Linked DNA regions of Homo sapiens: region 2 is linked to region 1. The links are contacts of gene promoters, found by promoter capture Hi-C in human tissues and cell types (Jung and others, 2019). All regions are on one chromosome and are shown on one strand. The core of a region is centred on a gene start or on the middle of the fragment in contact, and the rest is flanking DNA. Distances in the headings are between cores, read along the strand shown. Region 1 holds the start of USP39 (ubiquitin specific peptidase 39). Region 2 overlaps RNF103-CHMP3 (RNF103-CHMP3 readthrough).

What was found. Contacts are between HindIII fragments. The study calls those that stand out against the background at their distance.
Region 2: a contact is called between a fragment that was not itself captured here and the fragment with the promoter of USP39 in region 1, in 2 of the 25 tissues and cell types used here (dorsolateral prefrontal cortex and spleen).

The regions. Positions count from the first base shown.
Region 1 is chr2:85,613,185-85,618,671 of GRCh38, forward strand. It overlaps USP39 (ubiquitin specific peptidase 39), which reads left to right and starts at 3,002. Exons shown (of 13, transcript NM_006590.4): 1 at 3,002-3,279. The coding sequence starts at 3,012. RefSeq lists enhancers at 2,666-2,715, 2,746-2,795. The HindIII fragment of the contact is 29,292 bases long and covers 1-5,487 here.
Region 2 is chr2:86,616,374-86,621,860 of GRCh38, forward strand. It overlaps RNF103-CHMP3 (RNF103-CHMP3 readthrough), which reads right to left. Exons shown (of 8, transcript NM_001198954.1): 3 at 3,957-4,096. The coding sequence starts at 4,088. RNF103 (ring finger protein 103) reads right to left here. Exons shown (of 4, transcript NM_005667.4): 2 at 3,957-4,096. It overlaps CHMP3-AS1 (CHMP3 and RNF103 antisense RNA 1), which reads left to right. Exons shown (of 6, transcript NR_183901.1): 6 at 803-1,076. Among named protein-coding and RNA genes, the nearest start is that of RNF103, 4.7 kb to the right of the region's middle. RefSeq lists a silencer at 919-968. The HindIII fragment of the contact is 6,359 bases long and covers 1-5,487 here.

The sequences.
Region 1 (5,487 bases), core at 1,752-4,251:
ATCGTCTCTACAAGAAAAAAATACATTAAAAAAGAAAGAAAGAGCCGGGCGTGGTGGCTCACGCCTGTAATCCCAGCACTTTGGGAGGCCCAGGCGGGCAGATCAAGAGGTCAGGAGTTCGAGACTAGCCTGGCCAAAATGGTGAAACCCCGTCTCTACTAAAAAAAAATACAAAAAATTAGCTGGGCTTGATGGCCGGTGCTTGTAATCCCAGCTACTTGGGAGGCTGAGGCAGGAGAATCGCTTGAACCCGGGAGGCGGAGGTTGCAGTCAGCCGAGATCGAGCCACTGCAGTCCAACCTCCAAATCAAAAAACAAAAAACAAAAACAAAAAACAGGGACCAATGGTGGTCCAGCCACACGATGGAATATTACTGAGCAATCCAAAGGAAGATCTGTAGCTCAACAACATGGATGGATCATAAAATAAATATGCCCAGTGAAAGAGGCCAGGGACTCTGTATGATTCCATTTATATGAGACTCTAGGAAGTGCAAACTAATCTATAGTGACCGAGAGATCAGTTGATTTTTGTGGGGGTTCTCTGGGAGGAAGAGGATATCTTTGGGGCTGGGTAGATTCTTTAAATTTTTTTTTATTTTTTTATTTTTTTGAGGCAGGATCTCACTGTCGCATAGGTTGGATTGTAGTGGTGCAATCACTGCTCACTGCAGCCTCCACCTCTCAGGCCCAAACGATCCTCCTGCCTCAGCCTCCTGAATAGCATGCCACCATGCCCAGCTAATTTTAAAATTTTTTTGTGGAGATGGGGGGGGTCTCTCTATGTTGCCAAGGCTAGTCTTGAACTCCTGACCTCAAGTGATCCTCCTGCCTCAGGCCTCCCAAAGTGCTGGGATTATAAGTGTGAGCCACCGTACTGGGCCCAGATCCCGTCTCTTGATTGTGGTGATGGCTTCATGGGTGTATATGTTACAGGAAAGGGATCCCTATTCAGACCCCAGCAGAGGGTTCTTGGATCTTGTGCAAGAAAGAATTCAGGGTGAGTCCACAGTGCAAAGTAAAAGCAAGTTTATTAAGAAAGTAAAGTAGCCAGGTGTCGCGGCTTATGCCTGTAATCCCTGCACTTTGGAAGGGGAGGCGGGCGGATCACTTGAGGTCAGCACTTCCATACCAGCCTGGCCAACATGGTGAAACTCTGTGCCTACTAAAAATACAAAAATTAGCCGGGCATGGTGGCAGGTGCATGTAATCCCAGCTACTCAGGAGTCTGAGGCAGGATAATCACTTGAACCCAGGAGGCAGAAGTTGCAGTGAGCCGAGATCTCACCAATGCACTCCAACCTGGGTGACAGAGCAAGACTCTGTATCAAAAAAATAAAATGTAAAGTAGTGAAAGTACAGCTACTCCATTGACAGAATAGGGCGTTCCTGAAAGTAAAAGGAGGAACGCATCCACCATGGCTACAATGCTTGTTTATATATAGGATAAAAAGATCATGGGGAGATGTGCTCTGCTACAAGGGTTTGTGATAAAGGATTAATTTTATTATTATATTTTGCAAGAAGAAATATTATCTTTAAAGCAAAATTAGGAATGCCTTTATTCTCCAGATATTGGGATATTAGGACACTCCCAAGTCTGGATCTGTTTAGTAAACATTATCTCTCTGTTCCCTTAACTGTAGACATCTCTAGGCTAGGAATACCTAACTTCCTGGGAATGCAGCCTGTCAAGGCCCAGCCTCATTTTCCTAACCCTCACTCAAGATGGAGTTGGTCTGGTTGAAACGCCTCTGACATATACCGCAAGTCAGAATTCAGTAAATTGCACACAGTGTGGTGTGGTGTGGTGTGGTGTGGTGTGGTGTGGTGTGGTGTGGTGTGGTGTGGGTATGACAGAGTTTCACTCTGGTTGCCCAGGCTGGAGTGCAATGGGGCGATCTCGGCTCATTGCAACCTCCGCCTCCCGGGTTCAAGCGATTCTCCTGCCTCAGCCTCCTAAGTAGCTGGGTTAACAGGCTCGTGCCACCACGCCCGGCTAATTTTTGTATTTTTAGTAGAGATGGGGTTTCACCATATTGGCCAGGCTGGTCTCCAGTCCTGACCTCAGGTGATCCGCCCGCCTTGGCCTCCCAAAGTGCTGGTATTATAGGCATGAGCCACAGCGCCTGGCCTAAATTGCACACTTTAAACATGTAGTTTGTTGTATGTCAATTATACCTCAATGGAACGGTTCAAACAAGCAAACAAGTTCAAGGCAGGTCCTGAGGTTAGAGCTTTATTAGCTTCATGGTAAATCTGCCTTTACCGGGCATTTGCGTTTTCATGGTACCAAGAACCTTCTAAAAGTAGAATTAGGGCTGTCAAGGGGATGATTTGGGAATGTCGCCTAGTTTTCCTGTGCAGGATTGTCAGCCCCCAAGCCGCGGAGACTGTGGGAAACGACCTCACGGTGGTGGTTTCGAGGCACAAATCTGGGGCCGAATGACAGCTTCTTTGTTTTTGAGACGGAGTTTCGCTCGTTGCCCAGGCTGGAGTGCAATGGCGCGATCTCGGCTCACCGCAACCTCCGCCTCCTGGGTTCAAGCGATTCTCCTGCCTTAGCCTCCCGAGTAGCTGGGATTACAGGCATGCGCCACAATGCCGGGCTAATTTTGTATTTTTAGTAGAGACGGGGTTTCTCCATGTTGGTCAGGTTGGTCTCGAACTCCCGACCTCAGGTGATCCACCCGCCTCGGCCTCCCAAAGTGCTGGGATTACAGGCGTAAGCCACCGCGCCCGGCCTGACAGCTTTTATCCAGAAAACTGTCGCCAGTAAAGGTTCCCGTCTCAGTAAACTGTAAACGACAGTAGGCCCACAGAAGGTTCTAAGGGGAGAGGAAGCCAGTGCAGGAACAGCACCGCCCACAAATTTTCTGCAGCGTGATTTGTCCCCAGTGGCGACTCGTAGAGAGTTCGGGGCTCGCTACCAGCCCCTCTCCTGATTGGCCTTGTGCCGCGCGCTCGAGCGTGCTTGGCGCCTGCGCTGGACGACTCGGCCGGTAGTGGAGATGTCCGGCCGGTCTAAGCGGGAGTCTCGCGGTTCCACTCGCGGGAAGCGAGAGTCTGAGTCGCGGGGCAGCTCCGGTCGCGTCAAGCGGGAGCGAGATCGGGAGCGGGAGCCTGAGGCGGCGAGCTCCCGGGGCAGCCCTGTGCGCGTGAAGCGGGAGTTCGAGCCGGCGAGCGCGCGCGAGGCCCCGGCTTCTGTTGTCCCGTTTGTGCGGGTGAAGCGGGAGCGCGAGGTCGATGAGGACTCGGAGCCTGAGCGGGAGGTGCGAGGTGCGCGGGGCCGGGCCGGGCTAGGCGCGAGAGCCTGTTTTTTTCGCGTCCTTTTTTCTTGTCTCTAATCTTCCGCTAGGTCACTGCGCCGGAGTTGGGGGAGGGGTGGGGTTGGGGTGGAGAAGAGGAGGGATCCAGACTCGACGATTCTGCTGTTCGACTTGTTCTGATGAAGACAGTACCCTTCTCAATAATCGTATAGTATTTCTTTTTTCTTTTTTTTTTTTTTTTTGAGATGGAGTCTCATTCTGTCACCCAGGATGGAGTGCAGTGGCGCGATCTCGGCTCACTGCAACCTCTGCCTCCCCGGTTCAAACGATTCTCCTACCTCCGCCTCCCAGGTAGCTGGGATTACAGGCGCCCACCACCGCTCCCGCCACCACGCCCGGCTAATTTTTTGTGTTTTTAGTAGAGAAGGGGGTTTCATCGTGTTAGCCAGGATGGTCTCGATCTCCTGACTTCGTGATCCGCCCGCCTCGGCCTCCCAAAGTGCTGGGATTACAGGCGTGAACCACCGTGCCCGGCCAAACGTATGGTATTTCTAACTGCAAAAATCGTAACAACAGCAGCTTCCCTTTATCGAATGCCCGATGTGGGGGCTCAGTGCTGATTTTACAAGTGTTACTTCCTTCCATTTTAAAAAAGAATTTTTTTTTTTTTTTTTGCGTTTTAAGAGAAGCAAGTCTCGCTATGTTGCCTAGGCTGGTCTCGAACTCCTGGACTCAAGTGTTCCACTCACCTCGGCCTCCCAAAGTGCTGGGTTTACAGGCGTGAGCCACCGTGCACGGCTTTCCTTCAGTTTTTACATCTAAGGTCTTGTAATTTCTGTAATCAAGATATTCAGAATGCTTGAGCAATAGGCACCTCTACTAAAGTATGGATTATGTAGCACTTTTTAAGCTGAATAAAGTCTGGAGACAATTTTCCATTAGTCTCTTGAGTTTGTGCACGTACTGCGACCATTGCCTGACTGCCTTTTCTCCTGGACTCTCGTTAAGGATGTTCGTGTAGTGAGCAGCCTTGGAAGATAGAAATGGTGTCTCCCTACAAAACGAGGAGACAAGGGCACAATCCCTTATAAAAGATTTGGGGCAGGGTGTGGTGGCTCACACCTGTAATCGCAGCTACTCTATAGGATGAGGTAGAGTTCAAGACTAGGATAGGCAACAGAGCGAGACCTCGTTTGAAAAAATGGTTAATGGTTCAGATTCTCTAAGCACGGGGTTCGTCTCCTGTAAGGCAGCTCACTGTGTGCATGGGTTCTCCTCACTTTGCCTTGTGGGAATTCACTTGGAAAACTGACACCAATGCTATATTCCGGCTACTGTCATTGCTCTAATAAACTGTCCTTTATTTCAGGCCAGGTAGTCACATGCTTTCCATCAGCATTCATAAAACTGTGACAGGCTAACTTGTTAGCTTGCGAGTAGGGTAAGATCTGAGACCCACTCAAGTTTTTGACAAGTGGTAGATTTATAGATACACATGTACATTCTTTTTTTTTTTTTTGAGACAGTTTCACTCTTGTTGTCCAGGCTGGAGTGCAATGGCACGATCTCAGCTCACTGCAACCTCTGCCTCCCAGGTTCAAGCAATTCTCCTGTCTCAGCCTCCCAAGTAGGCTGGGATTACACGTGCATGCCACCATGCCCGGCTAATTTTTGTATTTTTTAGTAGAGATGGGGTTTTATTATATTGGTCAGGCTGGCCTTGAACTCCTGACCTCAGGTGAGCCGCCTGCCTCTGCCTCCCAGAGTGCTGGGATTACAGGCATGAGCCACTCACCCAGCCACTCTTTAAACTACGTAGTACATTTGTGGCCGGGCGCAGTGGCTCACGCCTGTAATCCCAGCACTTTGGGAGGCCAAGGAGGGTGGATCGCAAGGTCAGGAGTTCGAGACCAGCCTGGCCAACATGGTGAAACCCCGTCTCTTCTAAAAGTATGAAAATTAGCTGGGTGTGGTGGCTTGTGCCTGTAGTCCCAGCTACTCGGGAGGCTGAGGCAGGAGAATTGCTTGAATCCGGGAGGCGGAGGTTGCTGTGAGCTGAGATCGCGCCATTGCACTCCAGCCTGGGGGACAGAGCGAGACTCCGTCTCAAAAAAAAAAAAACAAAAAAAAAACGAAACACACAACTATATGGTACATTTGTATTACAATTAGTTTATTTTAGTGCTTGTGACATATTTCATATTTTTCATGCTTTATG
Region 2 (5,487 bases), core at 1,898-4,397, 1.0 Mb after region 1:
TACATGCAAACTATATAAAACCATTAAGAGTAAGGACAAGTGATTGACAAAAAACAGTGGTCTTTTAATTTTTTTGTATTCTTACATAGAATTTATAAAATTTTTTACCAATACAAAATATAAGATAAAGTGGCTTGCTATGTGCTTCACCTCCATAGCAGTATCAAGAAAGAAATACGTAATTTAGAATCTCCTCGAACAAAACTTTTGTCTAGGAGCAAAGATAAACAAGTTTAAAATCAGCTATTAACTCTTGTCAGCCAAACAGGAAATATATTGATGTAATACTTCAGTAAATATTGACCCAAAGCTTTATTTTAAATCATATGATGCTTCTCACTGCTACCTCAATTCCAGTGACTTTAAATTCCATATGATGTAACACAGCCAGTAGGGAACAAATATGTCCTTCTTTGAACTATGACAAAAGTCAAAACGGAGAAACAGAAATGTTAGGAGGAGGATAAATCCATAAAACCCATAAATTATGCTAACTTCTCCACTTCAGAAGCCTATCCACTGTGCCATCTGCCTCTCTGACCAAGGGTCTTTTGAAAGAAAAGTAACCATCTTCTATTTGTAATGCTATGAAGACTGGGGCCAAAGAATCCACAAAACTGTTAAATGAATAGCTAATGAAAGATATGAGCTTGGGTTAGGGACAAAGGAGAAAAACAATGTTAGGAATAACTTAGAAAAAAGAGCACTTGGTTCTACATGTATTTCATAGTGTGTCATTGGTAAAGATGTCATATGTATGTTGCTACCTTGAAAACTAAAATAAATTCTGTTCACATTACAGAGACTATACGTAACATGGACCTGGAAAAGCTTAAAAATATGAAGAGGATTGAACTGGCTGCCATCTGTGCATCTTCATTTATGAAAACACTCCTCATAGACTTAAAACAAATGACAGAGAACAAATTAGTCAGCTTCTTCTAAAATACAGTGGTCTCCCCTTACCCTCAGTTTCACTTTCTGCAGTCAACTGCAGTCCGAAAATACTACATACAATTAGATATTCGGAGAGAGAGACACCACATTTACATAAATGTTATTTCAGTATACTGTTATAATTGTTCTATTTTTATTAGTTGTTGTTGTTACTGTGCCTAACTTACACATTAAACTTTATCACAGGTATGTATGTATAGGAAAAAACATAGACTATATAGGATTTGGTACTATCCACGGTTTCAGGCATCCACTGGGGGTCTTGGAACGCATCCCCCTCAGATAAGGGGGGACTACTGTAAACAGAAAATAACAACAATTCAAATTGTTAAAAACAATTCTTGAAAGTTATCCTTTACAATAGATTAATATATATGATCTGAGCTGAAAGAATGGCAAGCAATGGAGACAATATTTCTCTTCTGTTTCTAGTAGATATTTTCAATTTTAAGCATAGTTTTAAAAAGTACAACCCTCTTTTAAGGGCTTAAACCAAGGTGGCTGTGCTGATTGGCTTAGCTGGCTAGTTCACAGTGCCAAGGACAGGGTTTCAATCTCATTCTTCTCAGTTGTCCTGCCAGAGATTGTTCTTTCAGACCAGGCCAGCCATTTGACAGATGTAAGCCACTGGCCTCAAGGAACACAAGCCAGACAGTGGTGGTCAATGCAAACCTTGAGCATCACTGGAAAAATTAAGCAGGTGTCCTACTGCATTATTTCCATACATAGAAAAACCACAGAAATACATTCTATTTTTAAAGAGTTGTTTTTCAACTATTAATACCTATAAGGTTTAAAAATATTTTCAGAGAAAAAAAATTTAGCAACTAGAATTTATAATGCTACCATTTACTATCATTATTTGTCCTTCACTTCATTTGTCACCTTACCAGAGAATTCCTTGCCACTCTCATCTCCTTAATCTGCTTATTTTTCTTCTTACTACTTTCCACTAACTGATGTTATATTAAATATTTATTTATTTGGTGTCTGCCTCTCCCAACTAGAATGTGAGCTGCCTGACAGAGCAAGGCCTTAGCTTGGTGTGTGTTTCTGGTATATCTTCAGGGCCCAGAACAGGGCCTGGCACACCCACAACTGAATAAACTTTTGATGAATTCTGTCACATATTTATTACAGGAGCTTAATTCATGGATATCTTTAACAGGACATCAAAAACAGTAGATCATTTACAAGCCAAGAACATACTGCTAACTATTGAACCAGAATGTATTTGTTGTCTATAGGCAGCAGCCTATATAGCAAAAGAACTCAAGACTTTTGACATAGCCCTTCCAAGTTTCAAAGGTGTGCAACATCTTCACCATTTATTTCCATGGGATCATTCAATGTGGGTGACATTTAGACACTGAAAGCAGGGCAGTGGGACTGGCTATTCAATTCATCCTCAGTAATAAAATCTAAAATTATCAAAACCAGTGTCTTTCTCAATCAGACTATTAGAAATAAGTACCAGAGAAAAGAAACAGAATAACAATATACTTATACATTAAAGCTTTAAAAAAGCTCCACCTTATTTTTCAACTCCAACTGACACAGAAATAAACTAAAATTTAAATAGATAATGTATAGACTACACTCATACTCTCACATTCTCTCCCATTGCTGAACTTAAAAATTACTGAATTAGATTATCCGGAAGGTAAAAGGACAAATGCAATAGGAAGGATACAATAAAGAAAGGCCATGGATGAACAATGTAAATCTCTGGAAGAATTCCCAAACCTCAACCCTTTAGCACAGTGGACTACAGTACCATTTTATCCTTTTTAGATGTATATGTATTTATTTGAGGCCACGTGCAACAGAAAAATATACCTATTTACAATCATACTGCTAGTCAGTGACAGTACCAGACCTGTAACAGCGACAGTACCAGACCTGCAACTAATGTCTCTGAACTCATAGCTTTTCCTACCATATTTTGCAGTCTTTACTCTCAGAAAGAAATATGAAGAAACTGTTTTAATTTTCATGCCCTGAATCAAACTTTGCCCACTCCAGTGTGAAATGATAAGAGTACCAGTCAAGAAATCAGAAGACCTGGGTTTCATCCTGGTTCAATACTACCAACTAGTTCCATGACCTTGGGCAAGCTACTTCACCTCTCAGAGTCTCAGAAAGGGTTAGTCTGATATAATTTCCAAGCTTCAGCCATTCACAGACTACATTAATAATTTTAGCCACATTCACGCTGTTAATTTACTTGATATGTCACTTTGAATGTACAGTTTTAAAATGTAAATAACTTTAGTCCTGTCCTAAGCAAAATTTATGAAATTTATGTTAATATAATTTTTCTAATTTACATTAAAATATGTAAATGATAATGCATGCCCACTCACCATAAATTACATCTTGGAAAGCATAAAATATTTTTAAGGTCCATCATAGCTCTAAAATTCTAATATGCTAATTAAGTCTCACAGTTTTGCTATCATAAAAACAAGGGTTAAAAATTATAATCTCATCATCCTGAGTTACGTAATGAGCACCCCCACCATTTTCCACAACAGCTCCTCTATAGTCACAAAGTTGGCTATTTCCCTAATACAATGATTCCTTTACTTTTACTTTAGGGTTCTTACTTATATATAAAAATTACTCAGGCCACTGAATTAAAAACTGGAGATAATAAAAACTAAGAGAAACAGTGCAAATCACTAAATAAAAGGGATATATATGTGTATTTCTCAATTCAACAAAGGTCCAATAACTAAAATAGATTTGCTTCTGGGGATTCTAAACAAAAAGTTGACCCCCATCCCCCATCTTTCTCTTTCCCACTACTCAATTTTCATCTTCCTCAGTCTCCAAAACCTTTTTAAGAAGATACTGGAGCCTCCCTAAGAGAACTGAGTTATGTGTGAGAAACAAGACACAAGGACACGGAAGTGTCACTGGCTGGTACATACTATTTTGGTAAAAATAATTTTTTTAGGGCTCTCGAATTATCAAATTATTACTGCTTTTCATACCTGAACCAGCCAGATGCCATCTTTTGTGTCTTCCACAAGCTCATAGAAGTGCATTTCACCACTGAAATTGGTACTAGAAACCGATTCGGATGCTTCTTCTTCCTTGAGAGCAGAATAGAGCTCACCCTCCATCAAGTCACCTGAAGAAAGGAAAAGAATAACACTAATAAGGTTGCAAGAATCCTAGATTCCCAATTTCAGTAATTCTATTTTTTACACTGTTAAGAATCATGATATTGTACTTTCATTGTATTTTATAGACAAGAACTACTAGAAGAACCTGGATATACCCACTTAGGAGTCATACATTCAATAAATATGTAGTAAGAACTTCCTATGCATCAGGGAAAAGTGAACAAAATAGACAAAAATCCATCTCTTATAGAACAGGGCTTATATTTTAGTGGGGTTATCACATAATTATTAGGAACTTACCAAATTTGTACCACTCCAAAAAGGCACAACTTTCTTAATTATTTAGTTTTATGAATGACACATACAGGCTTCATATACATTTTTAAACAGTATGGCTTATATGCTTCTTACTTAAAAGATGTAGAATTGGGTTCACAGAATTTGCCATCAGCCCTGCTTAAAAGAGCAACAGGGTTTGTATGACTTGGAGGTTAGAACTTTACCTGTTAGACAGAACAAACTCCATATTCATATACAAATTTATATTATAAATTTAGAGCTTGTATCATTAAACAAAAAGGAAAGGAAAACACTAAAATCAAATTATTTTAACTTTCGCCTTAAATATTAAACAGTGAGAAACCAAGTACTGCACCATGATAGCAGCAAAACCATTCACAATAAACACTTAAATTTTAAACTGCTATACCATGACTTTTCTGCCATAAAACGTGTGATTTGAGTCATACTGGGCTGTGCGTCTTAAAGTTAAATGTGGACTTCTAGTACATTCAATGTGCCAAGTATTTTTAGGCCCAAAAGAAGGCAATAATAAATAACAGTCAAAAGAAAAAAAAATGTGTGACCAAATTATTTTCCATAAAAAAATGATGGCTTTGGCAGTTGAGACACTTCTCATCTCTAAACCAAGAGAGTTTATTTATTAGAGATCTTTTACCCTAGTTACTCCACTTCTTCCCCCTATGGTAGAAATAAGAATCGCCATAAACCAGTCAGCAAACAAGGGGCAAGAATAATATACGATTTTATATTTTCTCTAAAGAAACATTTATCACTTCTGCAGAGTGTGTTCCTCTCCTCTACCCTAATAGTGAGATATGAGTTTTATAACCCGCAACCTACAAATATCCAAGTGTTAAACTGCTAGCGAGCTCATACTCTTGTCTATCACGCTACATGTCTATAAGGTACTAAAGAAGGAAAAGATTTGTCTTGTAAAAGATACAGCTGACAAAAATACTTGAAACAACAAAAAAGATAACCATCAGTTTCAGCTGCTTCCCACAGCAACGCAGAAAGCCTTTCTCAAATTACATTCCACTTTCAGGAAGTATATCCAAAGATATACTTTGTGCAGCAGTGAAAAAAATTAACC